Regions from separate parts of the Homo sapiens genome. Here region 1 is linked to region 2. The links are contacts of gene promoters, found by promoter capture Hi-C in blood cells and fetal thymus (Javierre and others, 2016). All regions are on one chromosome and are shown on one strand. Each heading gives the region's core, a stretch centred on a gene start or on the middle of the fragment in contact. The rest is flanking DNA. Distances are from core to core; before and after follow the strand shown.

The links. Contacts are between HindIII fragments. The CHiCAGO score rates a contact against its expected background, and 5 or more counts as called.
Region 1: a contact is called between a fragment that was not itself captured here and the fragment with the promoter of CRAT in region 2, in 2 of 17 cell types (endothelial precursors and monocytes). The highest score is 5.8, in endothelial precursors.

The regions. Positions count from the first base shown.
Region 1 is chr9:129,540,531-129,547,927 of GRCh38, reverse strand. No RefSeq gene overlaps it. Among named protein-coding and RNA genes, the nearest start is that of LINC00963, 56 kb to the right of the region's middle. The HindIII fragment of the contact is 1,575 bases long and covers 2,708-4,282 here.
Region 2 is chr9:129,108,448-129,115,078 of GRCh38, reverse strand. CRAT (carnitine O-acetyltransferase) reads left to right here and starts at 4,286. Exons shown (of 14, transcript NM_000755.5): 1 at 4,286-4,596. The coding sequence starts at 4,570. It overlaps PTPA (protein phosphatase 2 phosphatase activator), which reads right to left and starts at 3,664. Exons shown (of 10, transcript NM_178000.3): 1 at 3,448-3,664. The coding sequence starts at 3,478. RefSeq lists silencers at 3,351-3,400, 4,091-4,530 and enhancers at 2,928-3,468, 3,401-3,680. The HindIII fragment of the contact is 8,818 bases long and covers 1-6,631 here.

The DNA of each region.
Region 1 (7,397 bases), core at 2,246-4,745, 430 kb before region 2:
CGCTTTGGTGACTTGCCCAAGGCTGCACTGCTCAAGAATGGAGTCCATAAAAAAATAAAATCTGAGCAGATTGGAGCTGCAAGGGGGCTCAGAGCTCTTCTAATCAAAGCTTATTTTCCAGTCAGGGAAACTGGTCCAAAAAAGGCCAGGCCTCCCGGGACCGACTGGAGCTCTTTCTCCATCATCTTGGGCCACACAACCCTCCCCAGTGGATCCATAGCCCGCTAACTAGTGAGTCCCATTGAGTGGAAATGGAAGGTGGATTAGGGAGAACAGCTCAATAAAAGAGTCCAAGTTTTGGCCGGGCGCGGTAGCTCACACCTGTAATCCCAGCACTTTGGGAGGCCGAGGCAGGCGGATCACCTGAGGTTAGGAGTTCGAGGAGTTCGAGACCAGCCTGGCCAACGTGATGAAACCCCATCTCTACTAAAAATACACACAAAAATATTAACCAGGCGCAGTGGTGTGCACCTGTAGTCTCAGCTGCTTGGGAGGCTGAGGCAGGAGAATCGCTTGAACCCGGGAGGTAGAGGTTGCAGTGAGCCAAGATTGTGCCATTGTAATGGCAGCAAGAATGAAACTCTATCTCAAAAAAAGAGTCCAAGATTCACCCAGGGGCGGATGAAAGAACTCCCTGAGCCCTGGTGGAATTCCCCAGCGTGGGAGAGGGAGAGTGCAGCCCATGGGGGCAGGTCACAGCCCACACTCTTCCTTCAGGATCTTCTCAGCTCCCAGAGCTACCTTGCCTTTCCTGGCCCTGTGGAGGGGAGAATGAGGGCAGAGCAGGGAAAGTGGAGGGGTCCTGGGGCCCTCTGGGGAGAGGGAGCTTCTGTTGCTGTCCCAGCTCATGGGGTGTCCCTTGATAACCAGGAGAGAAGACTTTTCCTTCGCCCCCTTTCCTTCCTTCTCTCCATTCCTCTCCTGCTCCAACAACCAGAAGTGTGAGGCGGAAGCCCTGAAGTTTCTTGGTTTTGCATCTGCAGAATAGGGGTGCTGCCCTCCACATCCTTCAGTCTAGGGTGCTAGGAGCCCAGCAGTCTGTGATCCTGCTATGGAGAGGCTGGGAGCCCAGCGCTCTGATAAGTTGAGGCTAACATTTCATGTATTCATCCTTCTGAGAGATGAGGCCCCTTATTGGTGCCAGGCCAGCCCTACACTAGGGGCTGGGGTGCAGCCATGAATGAAGGAGACCCACACCTGCCCCCGTGGAGTCCCAGGTGAGAAGGTCTAGTTCTCAGCCTGAGAGTCAAATGTTGTGAGTCTACAAGAGCCTTATTCCCACCACATGGCTCTGTCAGACCCGTGATGTTTCTGGAAGCAGGAAGGAGGAAAGAAGGAGTGGAGAAAGGTGGGGTCACACAAGGGCACTAATTTTAATGTTCACTTTCAGTGAATGTAATCTTCTGGGATCTAGCACACCTACAATTTTGAGTGCCTTAAAATGCCACTGCTAATAGACTCATAGCACTTGTGTCTTTCAGGGGACCGTTCTCTGAAGCATCACAAATGCTCTGTGAACATTCATTAATTAGGACCCAATTAAATAGTTATCATTGGCTGAAAATATATTTATTGCAACGCGTTTGACCAGCTACTGGTTTCCCGGCTGGGCCTCCACATGTGTAGTTGTGCTTGAATGATGGTGGCCTGACAGGAGGGGTTAGAACATCGGGTTATCCTCTGACAATGCCTGCAGGGCTGCTGGGGAGTCTGTCCGCTCAAGGGCATTGATTCTAAGGACTTTCAATGGACCCTCAGTTCTTACCCAGTCTCTGTCTTGGTGCCTTCTTCCATGCTGGGAGCTTACTACAAGGGACTGTGTATGCCAGAGTCTTCCAGAAGAAAAATTCAAGGTTGAGCAATAACCTGGTTGCTCACGCCTGAAGTCCTTCCCTTTCCTTTTTTTTTTTTTTGAGATGGAGTCTCGCTCTCTCACCCAGGCTGGAGTGCAGTGGCACAATCTCGGCTCACTGCAACCTCTGCCTCCCAGGTTCAAGCGATTCTCCTGCCTCAGTCTCCCGAATAGCTGGAACTACGGGCACACACCACCACACCCAGCTAAATTTTGTATTTTTAGTAGAGACGGGGTTTCACCATATTGGTCAGGCTGGTCTTGAACTCCTGACCTCAAGTGAGCCACCCGCCTCAGCCTCCCAAAGTGCTGGGATTACAGGCGTGAGCCACCATGCCCAGCCCTGAAGTCCCTTTTAACTCTGTCATTCGGTAGCCCCCGAAGTCTCTTACCCAGTGGTCTAGAGCTCCTCCCGTTCTCTGCCTTCTACTAGAGGAAATTTCCCTCTAGAGGAAGTGCTGCTTGGCCAGGCTCTGTGTTGGCATTGGGGTGGAGGATGAAGGAGATACGTCATATACTGAACTCTTAAGGCCCAGCCCTGTGTCAGACCGGGGCTGAACACCTTGCACTGAATCCGCTTAAGAGCTCTGAGAAGTAGAGAATGGGTTCCAGTACAACAGGGAGGCAAACTTGAGTTACCTGAAATTCCTCACCAAGATTTCCCCAGGGGACTGGGGAGGATGGGGGCTGCGTGGCTGGCATGGAGATCTAGGATTCTCTGGCCCTCCAAGAGCAGAACAGCAGGTGGGACCAGAAGCCCCCCACCCAAGACTGGGCTGATGTGGCACAAAGGAAGGAAGCACGTAGGATCAGCTGCTAGGGAGGTGTTTCAGAAGCAGACAGAGAAGGAAAGCTTGTTTTTAGCAGTGGCCACCAATGTGGAATTTTGAAGGTATTTGTGTAAAGGGGAACCCTGGGACCATGTGAGACACTGTGCCACTCCATCATTTTTTGAAAATGACTGGGACATTTAGTACCCTGCTTGTATTCAGGTTACATACGATGACAGACACCAAGCCGAATGTGCCTAAGGAAAAGGAGAACTTAGGAGTCCACGTGAAACAAAACAGGGATAAGGACAGGAATGGAGCAGCCCTGAGTAAGGATGAGATCATGAGACTCAAATACTTCCAGACCCCTAGCTGTTCCTGTCTTCCTTCTGCCTCTGAGAAACATCTCGGTCTCATTTCTGTCCACCGCATATGGGGTTTCTCTGGGGAGGTGGAGAGTAGGAGGGGTGATTTTTTATTTTTTTAAGTTTTATTTATTTATTTTTGAGACGGTGTCTCTGTTGCTCAGGCTGGAGTGCAGTGGCATGATCTCGGCTCACTGCAACCTCTGCCTCCCAGGTTCAAGCAATTCTCCTGCCTCAGCCTCCCGAGTAGCTGGGATTACAGGTGCGTGCCACCACACCTGGCTCATTTTTTTTTGGTTTTTTTGTTTTTTTTTTGAGATGGAGTCTTGCTCTGTTGCCCAGGCTGGAGTGCAGTGGTACCATCTCAGCTCACTGCAATCTCTGCCTCCCGGGTTCAAGCGATTCTCCTGCCTCAGCCTCCTGAGTAGCTGGGATTACAGGTGCGCACCACCACGCCTGGCTAATTTTTGTATTTTTAGTAGAGACAGTGTTTCATCCTGTTGGTCAGGCTGGTCTTGAACTCCTGACCTTGTGATCTGCCCACCTTGGCCTCCCAAAGTGCTGGGATTACAGGCATGAGCCATCGCGCCCGGCCAAAGCGTGATTTTTTAAAATGCTGATTTCTTTTCTTTAATGGCCATTGATTTATTTAGGGTTTCTCTTGTTTTTGTGTGTGTGTGTGTGTGTGTGTGTGTGTTTTGAGGCTGAGTCTCACTTTGTCGCCCAGGCTGGAGTGCAGTGGTGCGATCTCAGCTCACTGCAAGCTCCGCCTCCCGGGTTCACGCCATTCTCCTGCCTCAGCCTCCCGAGTAGCTGGGACTACAGGCGCCCGCCACCACGCCCGGCTAATTTTTTGTTTGTATTTTTAGTAGAGATGGGCTTTCACTGTGCTAGCCAGGATGGTCTTGATCTCCTGACCTCGTGATCCACCCGCCTCGGCCTCCCAAAGTGTTGGGATTACAGGCGTGAGCCACCGCACCCGACAGGGTTTCTCTTGTTTTTGAATAAACTTTGATCATTTATGCTTTCCTGTAAATTCTCTATTTCATTTATGATTCTTAAAACTTCCAGTCTATCTGTAGTTTCATACTTTTTAAAATTCCTAATGTTAGATATTTGTGCCTTTACTCTTCTTTTCCTTGATTAATCTTGCTAGATGTTCTTCTATTTTGTCATTTCAAAGAAACAGCTTTGGGCTTTATTGAATATTCTGTAATTGTTGATTTCCTTTTCATTGATGCTCTTATCTTTATTGTTTATTCCCTTCCACTGTTGTTTTTTGTTTGTTTGAAGCTTCTTTAGTTAGTTGAAAGCTTTACACATGTATGTTTTAGTCATTCTTGTTTTAAAGTAAATGCACTTAAGATTATATATTTCTCCATAAATGTCCTTTTAGTTGCATTCTGCAAATTTTGTTTTGTATTGAGCAAATATTTCATATTGAGCAAATATTTCATAATTCCCATTGGGATTTCTGTTGTCTTTGAGTGGGCTCAGTGAATAACTTCCCTTTTCCTTCCTGGATTCTGAACTAACTGAGAGATAAGGCAAGAGTCAGCAGAGGAGGGAAAATTTTTTTTTTTTTTTTTGCGGTTAAAACTTTTTTTTTTTTTTTTTTTGTAGAGATGGGGGTCTTGCTTTGTTGCCCAGGTTGATCTCAAACTCCTGGCTTCAAGGGGTCCTCCTGCCTTGGCCTCCCAGAGTGCTGGGATTACAGATGTGAGCCACCGCACCCGGCCTTAAAAAATCATTTTTAAAAAAACTGATAGAAATAAGATTGGAGGATGAGGGTAGGTAAAACAGCCAAATGGGTTTCTGAAAAGGGGGATTTGGCCACCTTAACCCCTGGTCACTGTGATGCTGGCGGTGGCAGGTGCAGGAGCAGAGAATGACCACTGCCTGTGGGCGGCTCACTCACTCCCAGGAAGAGAAAGGGAGTGGGTGAGTCAAGTGGGCCCATTTTACGGTTCCCACATTCACCAGTCAGGTAAGTCACTCTTTCTCCAGGCCTGAGGGTGGAAAGGAGAAGGGAGAGGCTGGGTGTGTCATGCAGATTTAGCTCCCACTGCATGGAAGGAAGCATCAAGATTAGGAAATAACGTTCCTGCAACAATTTCCTCTTGAACCTATGAAATAGAAATGTGCTTCTTAGTTTTCAAAGACAGGATTGTTGGCTGGGTGTGGTGGTGCATGCCTGTGATCCCAGCACTTTAGGAGGCTGAGAGGTAAGGATTGCTTGAGCCCAGGAGTTCCAGACCAGCCTGGGCAACAACGCAAAACCCCATCTCTATAAAAAATCTAAAAATTAGCCAGATGTGGTGGCACACACCTGTAGTCCCAGCTACTTGAGAGGCTGAGGTGGGAGGATTGCTTGAGTCTGAGAGGTTGAGAGGCTGCACTGAGCCATGATCATGCCACTGCACTCCTTGCCTAGGCTACAAAGCAAGACCCTGTCTCAAAAAACAAAAAAAGAAGATATAGTTGTTATTTTAAGCTGCCTTTAAAAAATATATATATATATATGGGTCTATTTCTAGATTCCTTGCTCCATTGATCTTTTGGTTTGTCCTAAGGCCAACATCCCATTGTCCTGATTACTGTAGCATTATAGTAAGTCTGGAAATATCATAAACCTTGAAAAATAACCCTGGTTACTTTTGTCTGAAATGTGAACTCCACCTTTTTAACAGTTAGATAGTGTATAAATTTACTGCCCGTCTTCTGAATGTGATTTGACATATCTTAGTGTATCAATTTAATTCTTTTGTGTGTGTGTGTGCCAGAGTTTCACTCTTGTTGCCCAGGCTGGAGTGCAGTGGCACAATCTCGGCTCACTGCAACTTCTGCCTCCCGGGTTCAAGTGATTCTCCTGCCTCAGCCTCCCAAGTAGCTGGGACTACAGGCACCTGCCACCACGCCCGGCTAATTTTTTGTATTTTTAGTAGAGACCGGGTTTCACTATGTTGGCCAGGCTGGTCTCGAACTCCTGACCTTGTGATCCACCTGCCTCGGCCTCCCAAAGTACTGGAATTACAGGCATGAGCCACCGCGTCCGGCTCTCAATCTAATTCTTAACATTGTCATTTGCATGATCTTCCATCTTTGTGAAAGTCTTAGTCTTTTCTTATTATATTTTAGATGGAACTTCTTGATTTTAGATGGAAATTTCACTCTTTTGCAGACACTTGACACTGAATGAGTGTCATTTTGCAAACTGTACAAATGATCATTCAATACATATCCCTGCTCCAGGCTTTCTTGCCTAGATACATTTCCTTCTTGATTTAATTATATTATTTCATGTCAAAAATTTCATTAGGATTATATAGTTTTTACAGACAATGGTTGTGGCAGAGTTGCTGGTTGTCCCCCAATATCCACTCTTCCTGTCTTGCAAAGTAATAAAATTTTTTATCTGGACATGTGGTAGACCCGATAAGAACTATATTTCCCAGCCTCCTTTGGAGCTAGCTATGGATTATGGGATGTAAGAGGAGTGATACAGTGTGTGTGACTTACAGATCCTACTCTTGAAAGGAAACAGCACACCCTGCCCTTTCTGTTGATGGGAAGGAGGGTGCAGTGGTGAGCCATCTTGAACTAGGGGGTTCAGAGCAATATTACAGGGATCAAGAAGCAAGAAAACATAAGGGGCAGGGCGTGGTGGCTCACGCCTATAATCCCAGCACTTTGGGAGGATGAGGCGGTTGGATCACTTGAGGTCAGGAGTTCGAGACCAGCCTGGCCAACATGGTGAAACCCCATCTCTACTAAAAACACAAAAATTAGCTGGGGGTGGTGATGTGCACCTGTAATCTCAGCTACTTGAGAGGCTGAGGCAGGAGAATCACCTGAACCCAGAGGCGGAGGTTGCAGTGAGCTGAGATTGCACCACTGCATTCCAGCCTGGGCAACAAGAACAAAGATCTGTCTCAAAGAAAAGCCCCGAGCTGGGCGTGGTGGCTCACACCTGTAATCCCAGCACTTTGGGAGGCCGAGGCAGGTCGATCACGAGGTCAGGAATTTGAGACCAGCCTGGCCAACATGGTGAAACCCCGTTCCTACTAAAAATACAAAAATCAGCTGGCATACTGGCGGGCACCTGTAATCCCAGATACTTAGGAGGCTGAAGCAGGACAATCACTTGAACCCGGGAGGTGGAGGTTGCAGTGAGCTGAGATCATGCCACTGCACTCTAGCCTGGGCAACAAGAGCGAGACTCTGTCTCAAAAAAAAAAAAGAAAAAAGGAAAGAAAGAAAGAAAACATAAGGAACCTGAGTCTCCAATAACTCGGAGCTGCCGTATGACTATTTATGCCCAGACTGTTACTTAGGGAGAAAGAAAATTCTATCTTTGTGAGCTGCTAGTATTTTGGATCTCTGTCAGAGCAGCTGAACTTCTATCCTAGG
Region 2 (6,631 bases), core at 3,037-5,536:
GCACTGAGCCAAGATCATGCTACTGCACTCCAGCCTGGGTGACAGAGTGAGACTCTGTCTCAAAAAATAAAAATAAAAAAAGGGATGGCACTCCTGACATTATTTAACCGGGATATTTCACAGGAAGAGAGCCTTCAGGCCAGTCCATGTTTGGGAAAAGGCTACCTTACCAGGAAGCACTATAACAAATTACTGATGAAACACACACAAGTTGCCAGAACACACAATCCCAAATCAAAGAAACAAGCCTTCAAAGGCAGGATGGTGATAAATGAGGTCACGCCCACAGTCTCTCCAGCCTCAGGTTATAGAGACATAGGTTCCAAGGGACAGTGGATTCCCAACAACCTCACAGTATAAAATCAACATTCAGAATTTTAGAAATGTTCCTTCCTAAGCCCCCCAACAAAGACTATAATATATAGCATTATCATTGGCCATTTGAAACTCGTCTACATGTTCAACCTGTACAACTTTGAAACTTTGAAAAAGATAAGGGCAATCAGCATTTACTGATCGCCTACTATGTCCCATGCTTTGCACACATCTTATAAAACACATACTACAATTCTATGAAGAAAGTATAGTAGCCTATAGTTATTTTAAGAAATAACTGAGGCTTTTTCTCAGGGAAAAAAAAAGAAATTTTAAAAAAGAGAGAAGTAACTGAGGCTCACAGAGCTGTGACTTGCCAGGCAGAGCCAGATATGTATGACTCCAAAATCCAAAGTTTTCATCATTACATTAAGAACTTCTCGCCGGGCGCGGTGGCTCACGCCTGTAATCCCAGCACTCTGGGTGGCCAAGGCGGGTGAATTACTTGAGGCCAGGAGTTCGAGACCAGCCTGGCCCACACGGCGAAATCCCATCTCTACTAAAAATACAAAAAATTAGCCCGGCACAGTGGTGGGCGCCTCAGCAACTCGGGAGGCTGAGGCACGAGAATCGCATGAACTCAGGAGGCGGAGGTTGCAGTGAGCTGAGATTGCACCACTGCACCCTGGCCTGGGAGACAAAGTGAAACTCTGTCTCAAAAAAAAACTAAAAAGAAGAAGTTCTTTCCAGCTGTTCCCAAAAGTTCTGTTTCAAATTTCAAAAAAGGACCACAACCAGGGACCTGGCTGTTTCCAGCCACGGATAACCTCCCTGAGCACAGCTCTCTTTCAGGGCACAGGTTCTCTCTCCTCCCACTCCCCACCCCCACTCATCTTCAGGGACACATTCATCTCACTGATAACAGTGGTTGCCTTATATCTCCTATCTCCTGATGTCCTTACCAGAACTTTTTCTTTTTTGAGATGGAGTCTAGCTCTCTCGCCCAGGCTGGGGTGCAGTGGCTGGAGTGCAGTGGAGCAATCTCGGCTCACTGCAACCTCCGCCTCCTGGGTTCAAGTGATTCTCCTGCCTCAGCCTCCCGAGTAGCTGCGATTACAGACGTGTGCCACCACACCCAGCTAATTTTTGTATTTTGAATACAGACGGGGTTTTGCCATGTTGGCCATGGCTGGTCTCGAACTCCTGACCTCAAGTGATCCGCCTGTGTCGGCCTCCCAAAGTGCTGGGATTACAGGTGTGAGCCACTGTGCCCGGAGTCATCACCAGAACTTCTAAGGCTAGCTTGTTCAACCCACAGCCCAGGACAGCTTTGAATGTAGCCGGACACAAATTTGTAAACTTTCTTAAAACATAGGCCAGGCACGGTGGCTCATGCCTGTAATCCCAGCACTTTGGAAGGCCGAGGCAGGAGGATCACGAGGTCAGGAGTTCGAGACCAGCCTGGCCAATATGGTGAAACCCTGTCCCTATTAAAAATACAAAAATTAGCCAGGCATGGTGGCGCACCTGTAGTCCCAGCTACTCAGGAGGCTGAGGCAGGAGAATCGCTTGAACCCGGGAGGCAGAGGGTGCAGTCAGCCGAGACCATGCCACTGCACTTCAGCCTGGGGGACAGAGTGAGACACTGTCTCAAAAAAAAGAAACACAAAACCATTATGAGATTTTTTTTTTTGCGACTTTTTTTTTAGCTCATCAGCCATCGTTAGTGTTAGTGTATTTTATGTGTGACCCAAGACAATTCTGCTTCCAATGTGGCTTAGAGAAGCCAAAAGAGTGGACACCCCGGTTTTTTTTTTGGGGGGTGACGGAGTTTCACTCTTGTTGTCCAGGCTGGAGTGCAATGCCGCGATCTCAGCTCACCGCAACCTCTGCTTCCCAGGTTCAAGCGATTCTCCTGCCTCATCCTCCCTAGTAGTTGGGATTACGGGCGTGTGTCACCACGCCCGGCTAATTTTGTATTTTTAGAAGAGACGGAGTTTCTCCATGTTGGTCAGGCTGGTCTCGAACTCCCGACCTCAGGTGATCAGCCCGCCTCGGCCTCCCAAAGTGCTGGGATTACGGGCATGAGCCACCGCGCCTGGCCTGGACATCCTTGTTCTAAGGGCACACACCCAGAGGTTTTGTACAAAATAAATGTCTGGTTTTGAATGTCCTAAGAAACGGAACCCAGCTCTTTGTTCACCTCTTTTGTGGGGCATGGAGGGGATGCCTTTTCTGATTTTCAACATTTCTCCCTCCTGAGACCTTCCCAGGGACCCCAACATTGGAGACAGGATAGCAAGAATATCAAATGCTTTCAAAACATTAGCTGTGTTTGGTCGGCCAACCTATTTGCCTCTGTCGGGAATGTAAAAGTTATCTATGGCCAGTCCTTCTTAGTTCAAGGTAGGTCGGCAAACAGCCTTCTCCTTCTGCACAAAAAGGGTCTCTAAGATCCTTCCGTAGCACCTCCATCCCAGTTATTTAAGATGAACTAAAAAGAGGCTACAAGGTAAATAAGAGTTACCGAAGGAGATGCCGGAGAGACTAACCTCCTTGCACAACCAGCCTTTTAAAATTAGGGATTTAGACACCACGGGCAGTTTCCCTCAATAAATTCTCAGGCACTGGAACCAGAGAGTAGGAGGATGAGGGGTGAGCAGGACGCGGAGGCCGAAACTGGAGGCGAGGCGGGCGCAGGCCCACGGAGCACCACCCCATCCCCTAAGCAGCGACTAATAAAGACGGCAGCCTCCGGAATCACTTTCGCCCCCCTCCCTGGCAGCTTCCCCACCGAGTCAGCAGCTTACTTAAGCACGCGCTGCCCAGAGATGCAAAAGGCCCCCTTATGACCACGGCGCTGCCCACCCAGCATTCGGGCAGCCTGGACTCCCACAAAACCCAGAGTTGCGCCCCAATCACCACCCCTTTGCAGCCCCTGGTTCCCTCCCCAGCGGCGCCCCACCACCCACCTCTCCCCTAAGGCCATTCAACTCAGTCCCTCCTCGGGGCCCCTCAGCTTTTGCCCCTCCAGTTCCTCCGTGTCATGACTCTCGCCCTCCTGAGCCTCCCACACCTGGCACCGCCCCCACCCTACCCGACCCCGGCCCGGCCTGGCCCCGCCGGCCTTACCTGGCGGCGGCTGCCGCTCGCCCTCAGCCATCTTGCTCCGGCCAGGAGCCGACCCGGATGCTTGCAGTCCCCTCTCGCCTTTCACTCTTGCACCCACCCTTCCTCTCCCCGGCTCCACCAAAGGCTCCGAGCTTCCTGAAGACAAGTGAGCGCCGGCCGGCTATAACCGAAAACCGAGAGTTAAAGTCACCACAGCGAAGACGGCCGCCATGTCGGTGCGGGGCGCTCAGGGAGCAAGCCTATTAACGGCCGGCGCGCGGCGGACGCGCGGAACCGGGCGACGGCCATGTCAGTGCGGGGCGCGCGGGGCGCATGCGCGCCAACGGCCGCCAAGCGCTAGGACCGCTCACGGCCGCCCGAACGTCGGGCGCCGCGACTGCCACGATTGTGCGGGGCGTCAAGTTTGGGTTGTGCTCAGCCATGTTTTTCCGGGACAGTCTCCTGTCCCGGAGTACCACCTGTCATCTTTGTGGGTGGTACTGACCCTAACCCAAGGAATATTAGAGGACATTCCCCGGTCAACATGGTTGTGTTTTCCTATCACTCTAAGAGTTAGGCTCAAGGACACCAGACGGAGTTGGAAAGGTGCACACCACTACCTCCAACAGCTTAGAAGACATGTGGGGACAGGGGAGAGACAGCTGGACGGTGACCTCCTCCTTCCTCCTCCACAGGTCTCAATGACTCGCCCTCGGCCCTGCCCCTCTGTCCCCGCCCGCCGTGGTCCCGCCCCCGACTCGCAGCCAGCCTACTGCGACCCGCTACCGGGCGACGCCCCGCCCCTCCGTCCCCGCCCCTCCTGTCCCTCCTCAAGGAGACTCCGCCCCATCGATGCCCCGTCCCCGCCCCACAGCCAACCTCCCGGGCACCGTTGCCCGCCCGGGGCCCGCTACCGGCCCAGGCCCCGCCTCGCGAGTCCTCCTCCCCGGGTGCCTTCCCGCAGCCCGCTCGGCCCAGAGGGTGGGCGCGGGGCTGCCTCTACCGGCTGGCGGCTGTAACTCAGCGACCTTGGCCCGAAGGCTCTAGCAAGGACCCACCGACCCCAGCCGCGGCGGCGGCGGCGCGGACTTTGCCCGGTGTGTGGGGCGGAGCGGACTGCGTGTCCGCGGACGGGCAGCGAAGATGTTAGCCTTCGCTGCCAGGACCGTGGTGAGTGCGGCGGATCCCGGGCCTGAGGGCCCTGGACGGCCTGGGCGGGCCGTGCGGTTGCGTCCGGGAACGGAGACCGCGTCCTGCGGCCGCTGTTCGACCCGGCCTCCAGCTGATGGGGTGGGGTCAGGCGGGCGTCCCAGGTTTGGCAGAGCAGGAGATTGGGGCGCAAGGTCAGAAGCGGGATTAAACCCACGTCCTGGAGCATTCAGTTCCAACGACCCAGGAAAGACAAGGGGGACCCCGGCTTCAGTTAGCACCCCCACCCTTAGACCCAGAGACAGGCCGGTAGGGGAGAGAGACCAGGAGCATCCAGACCCTAGCTCACTCTCCCAGTTATTCTCCGATTGACACACCCGTCGCACGCTTAGGCCAGAGCCACTCCTCCGACCCTGTCCAGTTGGTCACACTCCTTTGGTTTATCAGACGGTCCCTGGGGAATTGTGTGTGGCCAGAGAAACACGCGGAGGCATCAAGCTAGAAAGGCCTCAGAACTGGCAGGTGGCAGCCCCATGGTCTCCCTCCCCTCCAGCCCCCTTCCCCACCCTGGCTGTATCCTTCCCTCCAGCCCCCTTCCCCACCCTGGCTATATCCTCCCCTCTAGCCCCCTTCCCCACCCTGGCTATATCTACCCCTCAGTCCTCCCCGGTGAGCAGCCCGGATGCTAGCCTAATTTCAGTCCCTTCCGTCCCTGATCCAAGCATATGTTGCTGGTGTCTCACTCTGTCTCAGACACACACTACGGGGCCAGAGGGCGGAGGGTGCATCCAGGCTCAGGCCTAGAGGCTCTTTTAGGTGTTGCAACACCCTGAGCCTCCACCGCACCCTTGTCACTGTCTCCCAAGCTGCATCCATCCCACAAACAGCCTCTAGATCATCCTCCAGGACCATCCGACTGGACTGGTTACCTTCCTGCAGGGAAACTGAGGCAAGGAGGGACTTGCCCAGAGTCCCCTGGACCTGCTCATTCAAATCCAGCCCAATCCCAGTGTCCTTTGGTTTATTTTTCATACCAAAAGTCCTCCGCTCTTGGACCCTAGCTGAATGAGCCACAGCTCAGGAAAAAATGAGTGTTCGTAGAGGGATGGCTCAGATGGGTCCCAGGAGTCCTGGAGAGAAACAGGAAATAGGCAGGGCTTCTGGCTGTCCCATCCACTGATGGCCTTTTCCTGGTGTCTGCTCCCTTGCACCAACCCTAATTTCAGGACCGATCCCAGGGCTGTGGTGTAACCTCAGCGGCCAGGCAGTCTCTGTCCTCCAGCCAAGTTTTCCCTCATCAAAACGATCTTCGCAGATTCTGACAGGTGGATTTTTTATTACCTTTTGTCCTGACTCCCTGGCACTGAGCCCATGCAGAGAAGAAAGGAAAGAACTTTCCAGGTTCCCTTCTACTGGAATGCCCCCCCACTAGCCCTCTCACCTGCTCCCCATTCCTCTACTTCTGGGAGCTCGGGAGGGTGGAGCAGCTTCTAGAGTCCAGGAGCTTCCCCTGCCACTGCCACAACCCCCGATTCCACCACAGCCATCGCCACTGCCACCTGCCTCCCGCTGAATCTTGGCTCTTGTCTTCTCTTTCCAGCCCAGGCAAGTGGCTGCCTCTGGCTAGGTTCTGCTCACTCACTTTGTAGCACAGTTAGGCTTAGAGATCCAGCCAAGGCAGACAGACAGGGCCCAGAACCTCAGTCCTGCCATGGAGGAGGACGGGCAGCAGAGAGAGAAGGTATGGAACAGAGCTCCTGCCACTCGCCTGCCCACTGCAAGAGCAGCCTCGGGCCCTCCTGTCTCTGCCCACTCCAGGGCCTCCTGGACTTTCTCTTTCTCTCTCTGCCGCCTCTCACCCTCCATGCCAGGCCACCCGGCTCTCTCGCCACAGCACTGCCCTCACCCCACCCCTGCCCCATCTCAAAGGCAGGAGGAAGCCCAAGGCCCCTCACCCGAAGGTGCTGCCATTGTCTGGCTCTCTGTGATTCTCTCTTCTTCCCTTCTGTTTCTCAACCTGGAAAGGGTGGGAGAAAAGGACGTGGGGACCTCCAAG